2 separate regions of the Homo sapiens genome follow, and region 2 is linked to region 1. The links are contacts of gene promoters, found by promoter capture Hi-C in human tissues and cell types (Jung and others, 2019). All regions are on one chromosome and are shown on one strand. Each heading gives the region's core, a stretch centred on a gene start or on the middle of the fragment in contact. The rest is flanking DNA. Distances are from core to core; before and after follow the strand shown. Region 1 holds the start of SLC6A1 (solute carrier family 6 member 1). Region 2 overlaps SLC6A1 (solute carrier family 6 member 1).

What was found. The method cuts DNA at HindIII sites, captures the fragments that hold promoters and counts their contacts. A contact is called where the count stands out against the background at its distance.
Region 2: a contact is called between a fragment that was not itself captured here and the fragment with the promoter of SLC6A1 in region 1, in 2 of the 25 tissues and cell types used here (aorta and spleen).

The regions. Positions count from the first base shown.
Region 1 is chr3:10,991,405-10,994,104 of GRCh38, reverse strand. SLC6A1 (solute carrier family 6 member 1) reads right to left here and starts at 1,357. Exons shown (of 16, transcript NM_003042.4): 1 at 1,176-1,357. RefSeq lists an enhancer at 513-1,037. The HindIII fragment of the contact is 17,540 bases long and covers 1-2,700 here.
Region 2 is chr3:11,027,495-11,030,223 of GRCh38, reverse strand. SLC6A1 (solute carrier family 6 member 1) reads right to left here. Exons shown (of 16, transcript NM_003042.4): 11 at 1,377-1,489; 12 at 872-1,003. Among named protein-coding and RNA genes, the nearest start is that of SLC6A1-AS1, 9.6 kb to the right of the region's middle. The HindIII fragment of the contact is 7,309 bases long and covers 1-2,729 here.

The sequences.
Region 1 (2,700 bases), core at 108-2,607:
ACTCTCTTGCCAAACACCCACCTTGTGTGTCATAGAAAAACAAAGGTAGACCCCCAATGCCACTCAGTCTGATACCGTCTCTGATTTTTGGGGTGTCACAAATCTCAGGAGCCATTTTATTCCCGCCCTCCCCGCCCCCCCAGCTCTTCATGGGGATAAGGCTGAGCTTCCTGGGAAAGGGAATGAGCGCTCCAGCCCCACATCCGGAAAGAACGTGGTGTTATCATTTGGCTTTTAAAAAATTCTCCTTGTGGTTCATGTCTATTTTGGGAGGATATTAGCTCAGAGCCTCAATAGGGGACTGCCCGGTCTGAGTTTCTTGTCTGAAGACCGAGCCAAGCCTAGAACAGGACATCTGTGGGTGCCACCCGTGGGGACGTGTGCTCAGAACCCAATGGGCACTGCCCGAGGCTACCGTGGTGAGCGGTGTCGCGCCGGGGAGTACACGCAGAGACCAAAAGCAAGAAGGGGAGCGCAGTTCCCGAAGCAGCAAGGAGGCACCGTCCTCCAGCCCTCTAAGGGACCGCCCGCACCCCACATCTCTTGGAGAAAGTCGGGGCTGGGAGAGCGCGGCGCGAGCTCTGGTGCACTAGGCTTAGCTCCGGTGCACTCAGCCCAAGCCCCGGTGTGCTTTTAAGCCAACGTTTCTGAGAGCTCGGGCTGTCCCAGAGACGTCCCATCCTCAAGTCGCACCCGACCCCGCCGTAGCCCGCAGAGAACAAATGAGGGGCATAGCTCTAACTCGGCTCAGCTGACCCCAGGATTGGGAAAGTGGCGCACGGCCCCCCAACGCTGCTCGTGTCATTCACTCCGCGTCCCCTCCATGCCCTGGGGAATGAATAGGGAGCTTCGACGGCTCCAGCAGAATCCAGTGCCAACTTGCGGGGCCAGTGGGGCACCGCGGGAGGGAAGGGGCATGCAACTCTCGCCTCTGTTCCAGCCCTCCTGCCTCCCGAGTGTCCCAGGGGACGGATGGCCTGGGCGCACGTCGGGGTCCGAGCGGCGCCTCTGCTCCTTCATGTGGCTCAGGGAAGGTGCGGCGCGGGGGCTTGAATCTCGAGGTGTCCGCCCCCCACCCGGCCCGGCTCGCGGCAGCGGCTCGGGGCTCTGGCCGTTCCTGCGCCGTTATCCCAGGCTCTGCGCCCCGCGCCCCGACGCCGGCCGCCCTTTCCTACCTGCGGCCGGGGCTGCGCTGCCCGGGACAGGCGCTGCATCCGGGCGGCTCGGCCGCTCCGATGCGCTCGGGACGCGGGGCCGCTCGGGCTCGGGCTCAGCGCTACTGCGCTCCCGACTCCTCGGCTCCTGGGCTCAGCGCAGCTCACCCGCAACCTCTCCGCTGTCTCGGTCTTCCGAGGGCGGGCGGAGGGTCGCGGGGAAGGGAGAGGAGGGGGGAGCGAGTCCGGAGGGATGGAGGGGGAGGGCAGGGCCCGCGGCGCCCGGAGCCCGCCCAGCTCGGGTATAGCCCTGCCCGCACCGCCCGCCCCCGCCCAGCGCTCCCCCAGGCCCGCCGCGCGCTCCCTCCGCAGCTGCCTCTTGCAGCTTCGCCGCCAGCAGGCTCTCTCCTTTTCCCTTCACCTCCTCTCCCCTTCTACGCCTCCCCTCTCCCTTCTTTCCTCTCGCATTCTCCCGCTCTCTTCTCCCTCCTTCTCCCCTCTCTTCCTCCCTCTTTCTCCCCTCTCTTCCTCCCTCCCTCTCCCCACCCCCTCCTTCCCTCGCCTGCCCCGCCGTCCCGCTCCAATCTCTCTCCTTCCTTCTCCTTCCTTTGATGGCTCTTTCCGGCCTCATCCTGGGTCACCAGCCTGTCTGCCTGTCCGTCTTGGTCTCTGTCTCCCTGTCTTTCACAGCAAGCACTCCCCTCCTGGCTTTTCTCCTTCCAGCCTTGCAGTACTGCTTCCGTTGGCCTGTCCTTTCCGTTTCTCTCTGCGGTCGTCCTCTTTTCGCCCTCTGTGGGTCGCTGTGGGTTGGGGTGGGCCCGTGCCCCCTCCCTGCTCTAGTCCTAGGGCAGCGTCTGCTGCCCGTTACACCTGGAAACACAGGCCTGGCCTGGGGTGACCAGGCTCTGGGTACCAGCTGGGAGTGTGTGTAAGAGTGGGGGTGGGAAGGACACCCTTCCACTGCCAGCGGTTGGTCATGGAGACACAAGTGGCTGTGTGTATGGATGGACAGATGGGGAAACAGATTACTTAAAAGGGAAACAGGGATGGTGGCAGGAGCCCCAGACACCCTTCTCTCAGTTCTTGAGGTTTGAGGGATTCTCCCAGAGAAGTCCCCTTTCCAGCCAATCCCAATCCAGCACGTAGGGACTCCTTCCCTTGTCCTTGCCAAGGCCTGACCTCCCCACCCTCTTTTATAAAGGCTTCTGGGAATGGGGCCACATCTGCCCTTCCCTCTGGGGTCCCCAGGAACTCAGAGAAAAGATTCCTTCTCTCCAGCCCAGACCTACTCTTCCCCTCCTCTCTTTGTCCCCAGGGATGGCCTTTGCTGATGGACCTCAGGTCCTCTACCCCACCTAATCTGGCCTCCTCCCTGCTTTCATCCATCCTCGAGTCCCCCAGGGCAGTGCTCACCAAGGTCACCCTGACTTCTTCTGTTTCCCCACACTCTCACTCATGAGCAGGGAATCTTGGTGTCTTTCTTGACCCATTCACCTCCCACCACTGATCACCAGGTCATATGTGCTGTGGACTTCCGTTGGTATTT
Region 2 (2,729 bases), core at 125-2,624, 36 kb before region 1:
TTATAAAAATCAGACCCGCAGTGCTGAACTCATGTTGCTAGAGTCGTTTATATTTATTGCACAATTCACCAGCTATGTGAGCATTTCTCATTCATGTCAATACAAAAGAAAAATGGGAATGAAAGAAAGCTTTGGGCAGTGTCAACTTCAAAGGCTCAACTCCAATTTGACTTTCTGGCTAATTTCTGTGGGCCTTTCTTTTCTTTTTCTGTCTTTCTTTCTTTCTTTCTTTTTTTTTTTTTTTTTTGAGACAGAGTTTTTCGCTCTTGTTGCCCAGGCTGGAGTGCAATGGCGCGATCTCAGCTCACTGCAACCTCTGCCTCCCGGGTTCAAGCAATTCTCCTACCTCAGCCTCCCAAGTAGCTGGGATTACAGGCACCTGCCCCAATGCCTGACTAATTTTTGTATTATTTATTTACTTTATTTTATTTTTTTAAGTAGAGACGGGTTTTCACCACATTGGCCAAGCTGGTCTCAAACTCCTGACTTCAGGTGATCCGCCGGCCTCTGCCTCCCAAAGTGCTGGGATTATAGACATGAGCCACCATGCCAGGCCTTCTGTGGGCCTTTCAAAGCTCAATTTCTACATCCCCTCCTCCAAGAAGCAGTCCCTGGTGCTCCGAGTCCAGTTAGGTGCTGCATTCTCTAGCTCTGTCCTATATGTCTTAGCTCAATGTTTGTGTCTCCACCAGCCTGGGAGCCTCTGGAGGGCAGGGACCCCATCTGACTCACTGTTATGTGCCCAGAGCTTGGCACAGAGATGATGCTCAATGAAGGCAGGAAAGGTGGGATACAACAGAGGAGGGGAGAGGAGGCCCTGGGCATGGCCCTGGGCAGTGCTGGGGGAGTGCCAGGTGCTTACTGAGCTTACCTGAGTGATGTTAGAGAGACCGATCAGGTAGGAGATGATGCAGACAGCAGCAATGAAGAGCTCTCTGCGGTTGCGGAGGAGCCTGGGGTACTCATCCACCAGGGCTGTGATGAAGCCCTCCACAGTGCAGAACTTCAGGTGGGAACAGAGGTCAGCCACCTGCAGCAGCCCCAGCCCCAACCCACCCAAAGCCTGGCCCTCTAAGGAAGGACGGGAGGCCCAGCAGCACCGAGCCAGGAGAGCCCAGGGTCCAGCCTGATTCTGCCTGTGACTCACTTTGTGACCTCAGGAGAGTCCCTCCCCTCTGGGCATCAGTTTCCCCTTCTGGAAAATGGAGAAGGTGGCTGAGCTGTTTCCTGAAATTTCATGCAGTGGAACATTCTAGGGACCTGGAATTTTTGGTCATCTTCTTGGCAGCCTAAGAGTTGCCTCCTCTCCCTGTTTACTCGGGGACTGAGGAGTCTGGGGATGGAGAGCTCCTGGGGTGCGGGGGGGGCGCCCTCACCTGGCTGTCAATGCCCAGCATCAACAGCATGGAGAAGAAGAGGATGGCCCAGAGTGGGGAGATAGGCAGCTGGGTCACCGCCTCTGGGTATGCCAGGAACGCCAGCCCGGGGCCTGAACAGAGAAGTGCAAAAAAGAAGAAAAATAAAAGGTACTCATCACCTACAGCCTTTCCAGCACACTGCCCATTTTCTAAGCCTTATTTCATTTCATCTTCAGAGTAACCTTTTGAGTGAGTGTTTTCAGCCCCTTTTTCCAGGTGCAGAAAGAGGGTGGGGGATGTGGGGCCATAGTAATTGTGCCCAGAGGCAAGAGGACCAGTGAGGAGCTGTGGCCATCATCTCGATGGGGGATGGCATGGCTTGGCCAGTAGTGAGGATAGTGCAGGTGCAGAGAGGCAACCAGATAGAGAGATATGTAGGGGATGGAGGGGCAGGTGCTGGTATTGGCTGGTTTGCAGGATGAGGGTGAGGGAAGAGTCCAGGACAATGCTGAGGTCTCCACCCTGGGCACTGGACCATGGGACCCTTCTGTGATGGGGAGCATGGTGGAGGAGAAGGCTTTGGAGCCTTGTTTGGCATGTATTGTGTTTGAGTAGTTGGTGGGGGTGTCTAAGAGATCAGGAAATCTCGGAATGAGAAGGAAAGAGATTGTAACCTCCCTGGGTCTGGCTCCGGATGGGGGTGGGGGAATGGTTGGGGAATTGCAGAGAAACGAGATGGTGGCTGCCCTTGAAGGGGAGATTAGAACCGGAGCAGAGAATGCTCCTTTCACGGAACCAGCCCACTTCTTCAAGGGACCAGCCGTGTGGCCTCCATGAGCCTCAGGGGCCTCTGCCCTGCATACAGTGGGTTCCACCTGTTGGCTGCTTGCCTGGCTGTGCAGCGAAGGGCTGTCTGGGGTTTTCCTTGGGTTCTGTGGCATTGATGACTGTGTGGTGAGCAGAGTGGGCATGGCCCACTTGGCGAGAACATTTTTGGAGCTGAGACAAAAGCATGGATTTAGTGGTCTTTGTAGTATGGTGATGAACATGTCTGAATTGAGCCAAAGTGTTGCGGGAGGTCAGGGACCCCAAACAGAGGGACCGGCTGAAGCCATGGCAGAAGAACATAGATTGTGAAGATTTCATTGACACTAGTTCCCCAAATTAATACTTTTATAATTTCTTACACCTGCCTTTACTGCAATCTCTGAACATAAATTGTGAAGATTTCATGGACACTTATCACTTCCCCAATCAATACTCTTGTGATTTCCTATGCCCGTCTTTACTTTAATATCTTAATCCCATCATCTTTGTAAGCTGAGGATGAATGTTGCCACAGGACCTTGTGATGATTGCATTAACTGCACA